Regions from separate parts of the Homo sapiens genome. Here region 1 is linked to region 2. The links are contacts of gene promoters, found by promoter capture Hi-C in blood cells and fetal thymus (Javierre and others, 2016). All regions are on one chromosome and are shown on one strand. The core of a region is centred on a gene start or on the middle of the fragment in contact, and the rest is flanking DNA. Distances in the headings are between cores, read along the strand shown.

Region 1 (7,121 bases), core at 3,391-5,890, 520 kb after region 2:
TTCATTATCCTGGGGGGCTTGGAAGTGGTAAGCTAAGAGCAGCACATCAACTGAATCATGACCCAGGTCTGGGGAGTATAGAAATGAGTAATAAACTGTCTCTGTCCTCAAAAAGCCCCCAGAAGAGGGAAGGTAGACAGGTAGACCAACTAACTACTGGATTAGAGTGAGGCCAGTGGACATAATTGTTGTATAAGAAGTGATGATGTTGCATAAGTGCCTTAAGTGACTCTGTTATTTATAGCAGCGGCCCCTAACCTTTTTGGCACCAAGGACTCGTTTTGTGGAAGACAATTTTTCCACAGACTGGGGTGCGTTGGTTTTGGGATGAAACTATTCTACCCAGATCATCAGGCATTAGTTAGATTTTCATAAGGAGCATGCATCCTAGATCCCTCGCATGCGCAGTTCACAACAGAGTTCACATTCCTATGAGAATCTAATGCCACCGCTGATCTGACAGGAGGCAAAGCTCAGGCAGTAATGCTTACTTGCCAGCCACTCACCTCCTGCTGTGCATCCGGGTTCCCAACAAGCCATGGACCAGTACCAGTCTGTGGCCCAGGGGTTGGGGACCCTTGATCTATAGGGCTTGGGCAATATGGGGGAATTAGGAACTACAAGATCCAATTTCCACATCCACTTTTGTCACTGACTTCTTGATCCCCTTGGGCAAATGTTGAGCCTACAACAATGAAATGAGGTTAGTAATCACAGACCACTTTTGATCTTGCCAGGATGTTGAGAGACCTGAATGCGTGATACCATGTCTAAAAGAGCTCTGAGTTACTTAGAGCTGGTATAGTGCTAGTGCTGTTGGTTCCCACACATGATGTGGATGGCTGCTGCCACTTGTTTATGATCACCTCCTTTGCCAGGACTGGGCCCCCTGATTCAGCTCTTGACAACCACTGAGGCATAAAGGCCAATGTGATAGCATAATTTAACTGCAGTAAAATCATTTAACTCCCTTTTTGGCCTGAACATGTTTTTCTCCGCAGCTGGACTTTAATTCTTTCCTAAGCTCTGACTCTTGGTCTGCTAGACAGATTTAAACTCCTGCTATATATTCTTCCCTTTGCTTGTGTTTTTTTTTTTTCCACTCTATGTATAAGGAGCCAGGAGAAGAACTTGAGGAATTCTTTTTCTGTAAAGAACCTTGGCTGGGCGTGGTGGTTCATGCCTGGTAATCCCAGCACTTTGGGAGGCTGAGGCAGGCGGATCATTTGAGCCCAGGCATTTGAGACTAGCCTGGCAACATGGCAAAAACCTGTCTCTACAAAAAATACAAAAATTAGCTGGGCGTGGTGGTGGGTGCCTGTAGCTACTCAAGAGGCTGAGGTGGGAGGATCATTTAAGCCTGGGAGGTCGAGGCTGCAGTGAACCATGATCATGCCACCACACTCCAGCCTGGGCAACAGAGTGAGATCCTGTCTCAGAAAACAAAAACAAAAAACCAAGCAAACTTTTCAGGTAGATTTTTCAATGAAAGATGATAAGCTTCCTGTCATTAACCAGAAATTTCCAGATTGCACCTAAAGGTCACCCTACATACAAGATCTAAGTGGGTACTTTTCCTCTGAGATTTTCAAGAGACCTTAGTGTCTGCTTACATCCCCTGTTCTGGTGAGAGCTGCACTTTGCAAGCAGGAAAAACAGGCATGGAAGAATTAAGTAACTTACGCAGTACTGTCTGACAAGTTCATAAGTGAGCTGCACCTAGAATGTAAATTTCCTTATAATACTTGCTCAACCAGAGTTCTCTCTTTCACCTTTAGTGCCCTAGCAATCAATAGTTGCTAGGCAAGGAAGTATATACAATAAGCACAACTGTGGACAGGTACTAGTTTTGGATTTTTATTTAGCCAGTGGGCAAACTGGAAAGACAAGAGCATGCTTTGCAGCATGAGGTCGTTTCTCTTTCTAGGAAACAGGACATCTGAAAGATAGCTACTTAGGAACAGGTTAGGCTCTGAAGGATTCCAGGGTAATTCCAAGGTAACACTACCTGAGAGACCAGTGAGGATCTACAGTAAGCTAAGAGAAAACGTTGTTGATGAAGACATTGATTTGGATCCATCCCCATACATGTGTACTATGCATTTGATCTTGCCTTGATTTGGCATTTTGTTACTTCTGCTTTTCATTTCCATTGCAGTTGGTTGCCTCTTCTTGATTAGCTCCATATTATGAATCCTAATGTGGGGTGAGTGGCTGGGGTCGGTGGGTGTCTTTGGTTTCCCAGATTGTCCCTTCACTGGCATCCCCAGAATCTGGTGGAAAAGGCCTGTGAGCTCAGACACCTCTTTGCTCTGAGCTCACAGCAGGCCCTTTGCCTGCAGGGAGCAGTGGGCGAAGAGGATCTACTTAAGGGGTTTGTGGCTTAAATGGTGATGGAATTAGGAGGCTAACAGTTCTGCCTACTCTTTGGCCAAACCTCCTAAAAGAGTACTCAGGAGGAACCTTTTGAGAAGTGAGAATTCTAAGCATAATGAAATTCCGTAAGCATAGGCAGTGTTTTATATAGTGTTAGGCTAATAGATTCTTAGATACATTAAAATACTCTTTGACTAGGTCTGGACATAGCACTTAATAATAGTGTGCTCAACATGGGGAGCACATTTCCAGAATGTGAGAGTAGTTACTAGGCAGAAAAGAAAGAGACTAGGGTGGTGATGATCTGGAAACTTTGTCCCATCAGTGTCAGATAAGGAAGCCAGGGAGATTTAGTGTGAAGGAGGGGAAAACATGGTATAAACAGTTTGGGAAAAACAAAAAACAAACAAACAAAAACCCCAGGAGACTATGGTCTGAGGAGCAGAACCAGGGATAGGGATGGCAATTTTGGATCAGTGTCAAGAAAAACCTTGATGCCAGATAGAGAGCAGTCCAGCAGTGGAATGGACACAATGACCTTCCCTTCACCTGTGGTGCTCAAGCTGAGATTAAATTGATGATGAGTTGTGGCTACTGCCATCCTGGTGTGTGCAGAATTAATGCAGTTTTGTTCTAGAGGGCAGCTTTGTCTATTGAAATGTATTTTTGTTGTTTCTCTGCTTGACAAAGTTGGTATGAGAGAGCAGGCTTTTGTAATGATGCTGTAAGAGGCTCCGGATTTCTGGGCATGATGGGAGTACATTCTGGACATTGTGTGAGTTGAAAAGAGGCCCATGCTATGCAGATCTCTGGGACATCTCTAGATGTGATGTTACTTTTCTCTTCCCACAGGCCAATGGCCATGTGTCTCAGGATCAAGAGGAACCCGTCTACCTGGAGAGCGTGGCCAGAGTACCTGCTGAGGATGAGACCCAGGTGGGGCCTCTGCTTGGGTCTGTGTCTTCACCTTTCCTCTTTCACTGGTGTTCTTCGGAACCTCTTAGCAGAGTCGAGTGGAGAGAGAATAAATGTGTGATGATAGTGCTTCCGAAATTATATTTTTGGGGTAGGGTTTAGTGTTAGTGTTCCAGGTTAACTAGTGAAGCGGTCAGTGTATTTATAAGGAGTTGTGAGGTCACAGTGGAGACGGAGAAGCCTCATGGCCCATTGTATTTCCAGTCTCTTGACTTTCTAAGAGCTGCCGGAGGGCAGGCTTGTGGTCCTGCTGTTAAAGTCTTGTTCTTTCCTTGCTTCTAGCACACTGTAGCCATTGTCAAGGGAAGGAGGTCAGACAATTAGCCAGGCAGGGCCAGTCCAGAGCACAGACCAGGGAGCTGTGGCCAAGGTTGTGTATAGAGGAGTACTTGCCAGGGAAATGTGCCTCTTGTGGGCAAGCAGAAGTCTCCAGGGGAGAAGGGCCAGCACCATGCTGGGTTTCATGTGCGGCCATATTTAACCTCTACAGGACCCCTGTGGGGTAGGACTGCTCTCTCCCCTTAATGGAGGGGCAAACGGGCTCAGAGTGGTAAGCAACTTGCTGGATATTATTTAGCATTAACAGCAGAGGAGTCAAGATTCAAAATTAGGGTCATATGACTCAAACCAGCACTCCTTCTACTATACTTCTATCTAGTACTATATCACACTGATTGGTTGGTCTGTGTCTGTTTGCTCCTGAGCACAGAATCGTGGGTCAGGAAGAGATTCTAGTATATTTTGCAATGCAGAGCACCATGCCAGGTACTCATCCTGTCTCTGTTCCTACCCTTCATGAGGTCAGTCACCAAAATTATGATGTGGTGACTGCTTTGGGGTCCTTGGAGAAAGAGCTTGGGGAGGTAAGAGCTGAGCACACTGATCTCATCTTTGTCATTGCAGTCTATTGACTCAGAGGACAGCTTTGTCCCAGGCCGAAGGGCCTCTCTGTCTGACCTGACTGACCTGGAGGACATTGAAGGCCTGACAGTGCGGCAGCTGAAAGAGATCTTGGCTCGCAACTTTGTCAACTACAAGGGCTGCTGTGAGAAGTGGGAGCTGATGGAGAGAGTGACCCGGCTATACAAGGATCAGAAAGGACTCCAGCACCTGGGTGAGGGGCTATCTGCATGGTAGCTTTACAGAGCTCAGGAGTGTTTGCTGTCACTCCAAAGCATGATGGTATTGACCTGACTCAATTTCCACACTTAAGCCATGGAAGGAGACACCTTACATATTTGCACCGTCTAATAATAGCTGTCATTTGTGGTTGAGTGTCAAAACTAGATTAGGCATTGCATGTATGTATTTATTCCTTAGAGCAACCTATGAAATAGACATTATTAGCATCACCCCTTTATCTGAAAGGTAAAATTTAACTGAAAATTTTATGGTCTAAGTCCATAGCCTTTCTCACCATATGCTATCCCCTCCCTACTCACCACCACCTTGTAAGTTTTCTTACCTTAGAATAAGAATGCTTGTTCTGAAGATTTGGGAGGTAGAAAGTGAATCTACATACATGGCAGGAGAAGATAGCTGTTCCATCTGCACTTGGGCTCTTCCTTTTGTTCATTTCCCAGAGCATTTTACACTGTATCATTCAGGAGATGCCCAGGAAAATATCTGGGTCTGTGGTTAAATGAGTTTAGGGAAAAATACCTCATATCTTCATTACTGATTTATGGTAGATTTTTATATTAAAGGCAGAGAAGTCCTGCAGAAGAGAAATGTGTTTTGGCTGTTTTGAACTTAGCATTTCCTGAAATTATTTCACCACAGAATCTTCTCCTTTCCTCCCATCCCCAGTTGATTTGGTTCCTACAGAGCAACATACTGATTCCTTGCTTGGTAAGAGTGGTTGAAGTCAGGTTTCAGGCTCTCTTCTACCAGTAGCTCAAATTCATCAGTGTTAGGGGTCATCTGACTGACTCTTCACCCGATTACAGACTGAGGCCTACTGACATGGAGTCTGTTTTCCCTTTGGGATTGTTTCAAGAGTCTTCTCTCCAGTCGTCAGGACCTGGGGAACAGAACAGATGACTCCACGTGGGAACTTTATCCAGATTCTCTGACTGACTGAAACAGCTAGATAGTTCATTCTTTCTTGACTTTAATGCTGACTTCAAAATAGAAAAGGATATTGCACATATACAGTATCCTTCTACTTGGCAGTTTGTGCAAACTGGTGGAATACCTTTTCCTAAGAGTAGACCAGGCTGGGTGTGTTGGCTTATGCCTGTAATCCCAGCACTCTGGGAGGCTGAGGCAGGTGGATCACTTGAGATCAGGAGTTCAAGACCAGCATAGGCAACATGGTGAAACACCATCTCCACCAAAAACAAAAAATTAGCCGGGAGTGGTGGCATGTGCCTGTAGTCCCCAGGTACTCAGGAGGCCGAGGCAGGAGAATCGCTTGAACCCATGAGAAAGAGGTTGCAGTGAGCCAAGATCATGCCACTGCACTCCAGCCTGGGCAAGAGAGTGAGGCTCCATCTCAAAAAAATAAAAAATAAAAGTAGACCAGATGCACGAGTAGGAGCTTTGTGTGAGTTCTGAGCATGTAGAGCGAGTAGAGGGCAGATGTCCATCTAGGCTCTTGGCAAGCCTGGTTCCCAGCAGGGAGTGGTAAGAGTTCAGAAATGATGTCAGGGCAGTAAGAGACTGTATTTGTACCATCATGCCTTACCTATTCAGACATCCTTCTCTTTCCTTTTCAGTCAGTGGTGCCGAAGACCAAAACGGTATGTAGTTGTTTCTGTTTGGGAATGGGCTTAGGCCCTTTTGTCCTTCCCCTCCTTCAACCCCAATCCCTTTAGTAATCTAAGAATTCTGAGCATTTGAGCCCCCAGAGAGAGGGTGTGTGGGAAACTCACTGAGACCCAGGGGGCCTCTCACCATCTTTAGAAATTCTCTCTGCTCGCTGTGCAGGAAGCAGAGTGGAGCATACGTAGGGGCGGACTGACTGATGTGCATGTCCCTGGGCTACCTGAGCTCATAAGCCAACATTTGTAAAACACTGAAACAGAGGAGGGGTGGCATGTATCACACTCAGCTCATTTTTTAAAATCTTGGTGTTTTCAGTTCTGGTCTGGGTAGGGAGGGTCTCTGTGTACACCTTCTGGGGAATCAGGGTGTTTAGCAGCTTCTGGTACTAACCAAAAAGAAAGGGTGGTGACCTGAGACAGCCCTGTTTGTACAGGGCTGGTAATGGTTAGAGCTACTCTGGAGCTAACACATGTGCTACTCTCTGGGCACAAGCTATATATCTCAGCTCAGCTGCCACTCACTTAAAGACCACCACTGGGCCCTCAGGTACTCCCAGAACACACTGCAGAACTCCTGACCATCTGTGGGGACATTCTAAAATATGCTATGTGTTTTCAAAAGCCTCAAGGGTATATGGTTGTGAACTCCCTTCCAAGAGAGAACGTTCTAAGAGTAGTGTTGGACTAGCCTGCAGCATTTTAAAACTTATTTCAGAAGATTTCCCAAATTTATTTAGTAAAATGGCCTTTTGCTCAGAATGGGCAATTTTATGTCTGATTACTTCTAATCAGACATAAAAAACAGTTGAGCTTTTCTCAATTCCCCAAAACCATTTGGAGTTCTAGACCCACCTCCACCCTCCAACCCCCCAGCATCACCGGTACCAAGATCAGGCTGATCTACTTGGTGCTTCCTTTCTTTTTCTGATTCCCTGGGAGAATGCTGACAACTGAGTTAATGTGTTTGTTGTTACTTCTGAGAGAATGAGTAACTGAAAATTA
Region 2 (7,525 bases), core at 1,117-3,616:
AATTCTCAGGCCTAGCCAAAATCCCTAAGAGAACAGAGGTAAAATTTTGCCTCCCTTGTGGTTTCTGGCAATGAAAATGGGACCCTAGAAGGTTGGGATGCGCCACTCACTTCAGAGCCTGTGGGTAGGATCCCGGAAGAGCTGACAGAACCTGCAGAAGGTAAGAATTCTTACCAAAGTCAGTCCCCCGACATATCTATCTGCAGTGCCCTGTAGAGAGGAGAACGTAAATTTTCCTTGTCTCTTCCTTTCCAAATTCAGATTGGCAGGAGAAAAACATTTGTAAGAATGAGTTCTTTGAATTGTAACTTTTATAAATTTGGTCTGGGTATGATCCACAGCCTCCAAGGAATAATAAAAAGTCCTTGTCTCTGTCGTTTGTGTTGTTTGTCATAAGGAAGAAAATCATGAGATTCGATTCTTCCTTCGTTTTATGTCCCGAGAGCTTGGCTTTAAAATAGTCTCTCTGGTCCTCGCCGCCAGAGGGCGCAAGTGTTGCTGGTTTGCATCAGGCCACCAGCCTGGAACCCAAAATCTAAGATAAGCAGCATTTTCGTCCGCCTGTGCCAGCTCTCAGAGAAGTTTGTCTTAATAAAAGGTCCCAGTCCATAAGAGGCGTTTGTCACCTGAACCTTCATTTTTCTTTTCTTTCTTTCTTTCTTTCTTTCTTTCTTTCTTTCTTTCTTTCTTTCTTTCTTTCTTTCTTTCTTTTTTTTTGAGTACAGGGTTTCATTCTGTCGCCCACGTTGGAGTGCAGTGGCGTGATCTTGGTCACTGTAACCTCCGCCTCCCGGGCTCAAGTGATTCTCCCGCCTCAGTCTCGCGAGTACCTGAAATTTCTGACATGCACCACCAGGCCTGGCTAATTTTTGTATTTTTTGTAGAGACAGGGTTTCACCATATTAGCCAGGCTGGTCTTGAACTCCTAACCTCAAGTAATCTGCCCGCCGCAGCCTCCCAAAATACTGAGATTATAGGTGTGAGCCACCGCGCCCGGCAAAAGGGCTGCATGGTTTGCATCCTCCTTGGGGATGTCTCTTACATCCATGGTTAAGTGATAAAAGGCTTATAGGTTTTAAGCCATAAAAACTTACTGGTTTTGAGTCACAATTAAGACAGGTATACCTTTGAAGATTTGAACTTTTATATCTAAAAGGATTTTTTTTTAAAAGAAAGCTGTCATCCTAAACAAATGTCTATGGAAAGATGAGATCGAAAGAAAATATTAATAGGCAAAGATGAGAATCAATTTTTATCAAAATTATTAAATTTTGTGTTTATGTATACCTAATCATGGCTAAGATTTTAAATGAAAATTATAAGATCTATTTGTGTCTGTCTTTATGTTTATGCCTATATGTGTGTGTTGTGTATATGTGATATGTCTCTACCTCCTGATATTGCACCACTACTTGACAGTATAATTCAGAATGTCTGGGGAAGGACCTTAGCATCTGAATTTTTAAAAAGCATGCCAAAAGATTTGAACAAGCAGCCAAGATTGGGAACTAATTATCTGATTAACGAATGACATCTCTAATTCAATTCCCTCTAGTGCACAGCACCTTTTCTTATAGCTAAAAATGATTGCTAAATCCACACTGTAATAATTTTTTCAATGTATAAGGATAGAAACCCAAAAAAAATGGAACAAGAAACCAACAAGAGCTCAAGGGAATTGTGACTCCTACAGCTGTTGAGGGAGACAGCAGGTCAAAAAGTAGCAGAAACTTGATCAGAACAATAGCAACAGTATTAGCAGCTAAATTAATAGCAGTGAATCCATCTCGGCTCTAATTACAACAACTATTAGGATTATGGAGGCTACTATAAAAATTGAATGAGAAAGTCAGTGAGATGCACTGTTTAATTTCCTTTCTGGCTCTTTCACTGTTTCTTTTTGTTTTGTTTTTTCCCTTTTCCTTGCCAATAAAAAATATTTGTTGAGTAACTCAGGCCTACTGTACAAAGTAACAATTCTCTCCTCCCTTTCCATCTTCTTCCTCTCCAGTTCTACTTCTGAGAAAGTAATCCTTAATAACAGTTTGGTGTGTATCCAAAAAAGCTTTTTTGTAGCATTATTCTCCAAAGTGTTTGAAGCATTTCTTCTGATAAAGTTTCTTTAGTCTTTAGCCAGAACTAGTCTTTGGCCCACTTAGTCTATTGATAAACAGGAAATAGCACATATTCCCCCCTTGAGGCTAGAATGGCAGGCCTAAAATGAGTAGGAGAATTCTGAGAAATGGAAACTTTAAAAAGGCGGCAACCTTCTAGTTTCATTCTCAGAAATACCAAAGCAGCATTTTTCCTGGACTTGTTCTGCAGAGCGCTCAGATTTGAAAGCCATTTCTAGCCTTTGAGGATTACCACTGTCCTCAGCCAAACTGCAGGGACTCCTAAGTAGATCAGAGCTCCTGGAACTTTCTCATCTTTTCAGCATCTCAACCCTGTGGAATCTTTTAACTCCCAAGGTAAGTACAGATTGTCCAGAGAGATCTAAGCCATGCTTATTCAATGGAATGGAGAGTCTCTCAAAGAGACCTCATAACTCTAAGATGAAAATCTCCTCTGTGGCTACAGACTTTTCCAGATATACCCACTTTAGGCAAGAGAGGATGAAGTAGACACTTTAGGTCTACACTTTTAATAAATAAGTGAAATAGACAATGAGAGGAGCTGGTCCTTAGACTGTACTCACCTTGTAGCTGAGGCCAGGGATGTAGGACTCAAGCCCAGAGGAACCTGGCTGGGCTGAGAGAAAGAGATGTAGAGGGTTCTCATAGTTCTGGGGAACAAACCTTCAGATAAGACAAGTGAGGAGACTTGGGAGGAAGGGATGCCTGTGAAGATTCTCTTTTTTTTTTGAGACAGGTTCTCACTCTTTCGCCCAGGCTGTCGTGCAGTGGTGCGATCACAACTCACTGCAGCTTCGACCTTCCAGGGCTCAAAGGATCCTCCTGCTTCAGCCTTTGAAAGTGCGGGGACTACAGGCACTGAGCGTGAGGGTGCCTGGCTAATTTTTTTCGTTTCTGTAGAGAGGAAGTCTTGCTAGATTGACCAGGCTGGTTTCAAACTCCTGACCTCAAGTAATCGTCCCACCTTGGCCTCCCAATGTGCTGGGATTATAGACATTAGCCACCGTACCCAGCCTCGCCTGTGAAGATTCTTTAGCAGTTAGCTGATTGCTTCATCACTATGAAAAGGGGTTTCTTATTTTTCTTATTTTTTTTTTTTTGAGACAGGCTCTCACTCTGTCACCCAGGCTGGAGTGCAGTGATGCAATCGTGGCTCACTGCAGTCTCAACCTCCCTAGGCTCAAGTGATCCTCCCGTCTCAGACTCTCGAGGAGCTGGGACTATAGACCATGCACCACCACACCCAGCTAATTTTTTTATATTTTGTAGAGACTGGATTTCCTTGCTCAGACTGGTCTCAAACTCCTGGGCTCAAGCAATCTGCCCACCTTAGCCTCCCAAAGTGCTGGGATTACATGCATGAGCCACTGAGCCCAACTGTGTTTTTTTGTTTTTCGTAATATATAAACTATTTTGTTTTCAGAGAAACTTAAGCTATATTGACTGGGAAACTGTGATCTAGTTGGATTTAGATATAATGTTTGCAAATGTGTCACTGCATTGGGTCTTTTTGTTTACCAACATTAATTAAAGCAGATACTTGTGAAGGCCCTAGATGTTCTGTCTAGCTGTGTTTTTACATGTGACTTTTGCTTGCCTGTGTTTAACAGAAATAGACCTATGTTTTTCTTGTTATCAAATGTGTTTTATAAAATAAATGCTATCACAAATACCAGGGAGATTATTCCAGAATGGTTATTCTTACCAGAGTAATGAAAACTCTCTTGTCTTCCAAGAGGCCTAATAATTTGGGAGACCAGTTTGCACAATGATTAAGAGTCTAGATTTTTGGCCGGATGTGGTTGCTCATGCCTGTAATCCCAGCACTTTGGGAGACCAAGGTGGGAAGATCGCTTGAGCCCAGAAGTTTGAGAACAGCCTGGATAACATAGCAAGACCCCATCTCTACAAAACAAACAAACAAACAAACAAACAAACAAACAAACTAGCCAGGGCCGGGTGTGGTGGCTCACGCCTGTAATCCCAGCACTTTGGGAGGCCGAGGAAGGTGGATCATTTGAGGTCAGGAGTTCAAGACCAGCCTGGCCAACATGGTAAAACCCTGTCTCTACTAAAAATACAAAAATTACCTGGGAGTGGTGGTGCGTGCCTGTCATTCCAGCTACTCAGGAGGCTGAGGTGGAAAGATCACTTGAACCCAGGAGGTGGAGGGTGCGGTTAGCTGAGATCCTGCCACTGCCTTCGAGCCTTGGCGGCAGAGCAAGAATCCATCTCAAAAACAAAAACAAAAAAAGCTAGCCAGGCATGGTGGCGTACACCTGTAGTCCCAGCTACTTGGGAGGCTGAGGTGGGAGGACTGCTTGAGTTCGGGTGGTGAAGGCTGCAGTGAGCTATGACTGCACCACTGCACTCCAGCCTGGATGACAGAGCAAGACCCTGTTGCTTTAAAAAAAAAAAAAGGCTGGGTGCGGTGCTGTAATCCCAGCACTTTGGGAGCCTGAGGTGGGCGGATCACCTGAGGTCGGGAGTTCAAGACCAGCCTGAACAACGTGGAGAAACCCCGTCACTACTAAAAATAAAAAAAAAAAAATTAGCTAGGCAAGGTGGCACATGTCTGTAATCCCAGCTACTAGGGAGGCTGAGGCAGGAGAATTGCTTGAACCTGGGAGGTGGAGGTTGTGGTGAGCCGAGATCACGCCATTGCACTCCAGCCTGGGCAACAAGAGTGAAACTCCATCTAAAAAAAAAAAAAAAAAAGGAGAAAGAGAGAGTCTAGGTTTTGATTAGAAACACTAGCATTTGGAATCAAATACTCCTGGATTTGAGCCTCACCCATATGACTCTGAATATGTCCCCCAACCTCAGTTTCCTCATTGGTAAAATAAAGATAATAGTATTTGTTGTGAGAAAGCAATGAGATAATGTATGTAAAGTTTTTGGTACAGTTCCTGGCTCAATAAATGTTAGCTCTTTCAGCTCATGAGGAGCACCACAAGCATTAACCTTCCTACTATGCCCTTTGTTTTTATTTGCTCTTGATTGATTAGCTCTTCCTGTATCAGAACTCTTGATCCCAGGCCTTGATAGAGATTTCTGCTTTTGGCTGCTTAAGCTTTGGCATATATCCAGGTTCTCTCTCCACATTTGGATCCTTTCTCCCTTTCAATGTTTGGCTAAGCTATGGTTTTTAATCTGGGGTGAGAAGCAGTATCTCATAAACAGCTCCCGCCAGTGACTGGGCCCATTCTGGTTCTTATCCATTGGATTGAGATGGAAGAGGAGCAATTGAAATAATAGACATGAATTCCCATCAATTGCCAGGTCCCTCGGCTTACTTCTAAATCTCTCTCAACTCTGCCGGCTTAATTCTAAATCTCTCTCAACTCTGCCTACTTCTCCACTGTCCCCACCTTAGTCCACATCACCATCTGTTCTCATTTGGGCTGCTGAAACCATATCCTGAAAGGTCTTTTCCATGACTGCTCTAACCTGCTTCAGCTAGAAAGGACTTTGAAAAATGTTCATCTGATGCTGTGTCTTCCTGCTTAACAACCTCCAATGGCTTCCCATTACTTTTTGTTTTTTTTGAGACGGAGTCTTGCTCTGTTGCCAGGCTGGAGTGCAGTGGGACGATCTCAGCTCACTGCAACCTCCGCTTCCCGGGTTCAAGAGATTCTCCTGCCTCAGCCTCCCGAGTAGCTGGGACTGCAGGCATGTGCCACCATGCCCGGCTAATTTTTTGTATTTTTAGTAGAGATGGGGTTTCACCGTGTTAGCCAGGATGGTCTCCATCTCTTGACCTCATGATCTGCCCACCAGGGCCTCCCAAAGTGCTGGGATCACAGGCATGAGACACCGTGCCCAGGCCTTTCTTTTGAGACAGAGTCTCCTTCTGTTGCCCAGCCTGGAGTGCAGTGGCATGATTTTGACTCACTGCAAACTTTGCCTCCCAGGTTAAAGCAATTCTCGTGCCTCAGCCTCCCAAGTAGCTGGGACTACAGGTGCAGCCTGGTTAATTTTTGTATTTTTAGTAGAGATGAGGTTTCACTATGTTGGCCAGGCTGGTCTCGAACTCCTGACCTCAGGTGATCTGCCCGCCTCGGCCTCCCAAAGTGCTGGGATTACAGGCGTGAGCTATGGTGTCTGGCCAGCTTCCCATTACTCTTAGGGTAAAGCCAGGAACCCTTAAAGTGGCTTACCAGACAATGCACAGCTGGACACCTGAGCATGGTTCCAACCTCATCTCCTGCCTCTATCCTTCCAGCTCTGTGCTGTCAGTCTTTTGAACTTGACATACTCCTTCTTACTTCTGTCTAGAAAATTCTTCCCCCCCTTCTTCACCAAATTAACTCTTCACCTCATTTGCATTCTTCAGATCTTAACTCAAATGTTACTTTTTCTGGAAATCCTTCTCTGAACCCATTCCCTCTCCAACTGCCAGGTGAGGGCAGTGTTTCCATTCTAAGCTCCCCTGACATTCTAAACTTTTGTCCATAGGAGTCACTTGTTTACTGTCAACCTCCTCAAGAACAGGGACCAGGTTTGTTTTGTTCACCACTGTCTTTTCTGGATTTAGCACAGTGCTAGGCAAATAATAGATTTCCAATAAATATTTGTTGAGTAAATGATTTATGACTATTATTTATGGTTAAGTATGAATTGAGAGCAATTTCAACAATTGAGAAGTACCTAGTTCATTAATATGCATCTTTTAAAAATAGTTTCTACATACAACATTGTGTTAAGCATCTTCTTGATGAAATGTAACATATAACTAAAAGCATAACAACTTGAAAGGGTTGTAGAGGTGTTATGTGATAAAAGCAGAATATAAAATTCTGTTTATTTGATGTTTACAAATTGTAAAACAATGTAATATTATTAAGATGATAAGAGATAAGGCTGAAAATATTATTGATCACCATAATATTGTTTATAAAGTATATAAAACTGAATGTTGTAGCCTGCCATTTTTTGTGTGTCAAACAATATATATTTAATAATGTGATAATTATATGATTTTGAAGTTTTTTTGTTTTTGTCTTTTGGTTTGTTTTTGTTTTTGAGACAGGGTCTCACCAGGCTGGAGTGCAGTGGAATGATTTTTGTTCACTGCAACCTCTGCCTCCTGGGTTCTAGTGATTCTCCTGCCTCAGCCTCCTGAGTAGCTGGGATTACAGGCACCTGCCATCATGCCTGGCTAATTTTTGTATTTTCAGTAGGGGTGAGGATTTCACTGTGTTAGCCAGGCTGGTCTTGAACTCCTGGCCTCAAGTGATATGCCTGCCTTGGCCTCCCAAAGTGTAAGGATTATAGGTGAGAGCCACGGTGCCTGGCCTGATTTTGAAGTTTTAAAAAAAGTTTTCCAGTAATCCCAACGGAGCCAGGTACTTTATAAAATTTTTCTTGATAACGTCCCTCAGGCTTTT

What was found. The method cuts DNA at HindIII sites, captures the fragments that hold promoters and counts their contacts. A CHiCAGO score of 5 or more calls a contact.
Region 1: a fragment that was not itself captured here is called in contact with the fragment with the promoter of SLFN12L in region 2 in 5 of 17 cell types (activated CD4 T cells, naive CD4 T cells, total CD4 T cells and 2 more); the score reaches 8.8 in activated CD4 T cells.

What each region holds. Positions count from the first base shown.
Region 1 is chr17:35,013,714-35,020,834 of GRCh38, reverse strand. RFFL (ring finger and FYVE like domain containing E3 ubiquitin protein ligase) reads left to right here. Exons shown (of 7, transcript NM_001017368.2): 4 at 3,229-3,312; 5 at 4,255-4,465; 6 at 6,072-6,095. RAD51L3-RFFL (RAD51L3-RFFL readthrough) reads left to right here. Exons shown (of 7, transcript NR_037714.1): 6 at 4,255-4,465. Among named protein-coding and RNA genes, the nearest start is that of LIG3, 37 kb to the right of the region's middle. The HindIII fragment of the contact is 6,276 bases long and covers 1,503-7,121 here.
Region 2 is chr17:35,532,519-35,540,043 of GRCh38, reverse strand. SLFN12L (schlafen family member 12 like) reads left to right here and starts at 2,366. Exons shown (of 5, transcript NM_001363830.2): 1 at 2,366-2,471. RefSeq lists an enhancer at 2,959-3,038. The HindIII fragment of the contact is 3,143 bases long and covers 2,068-5,210 here.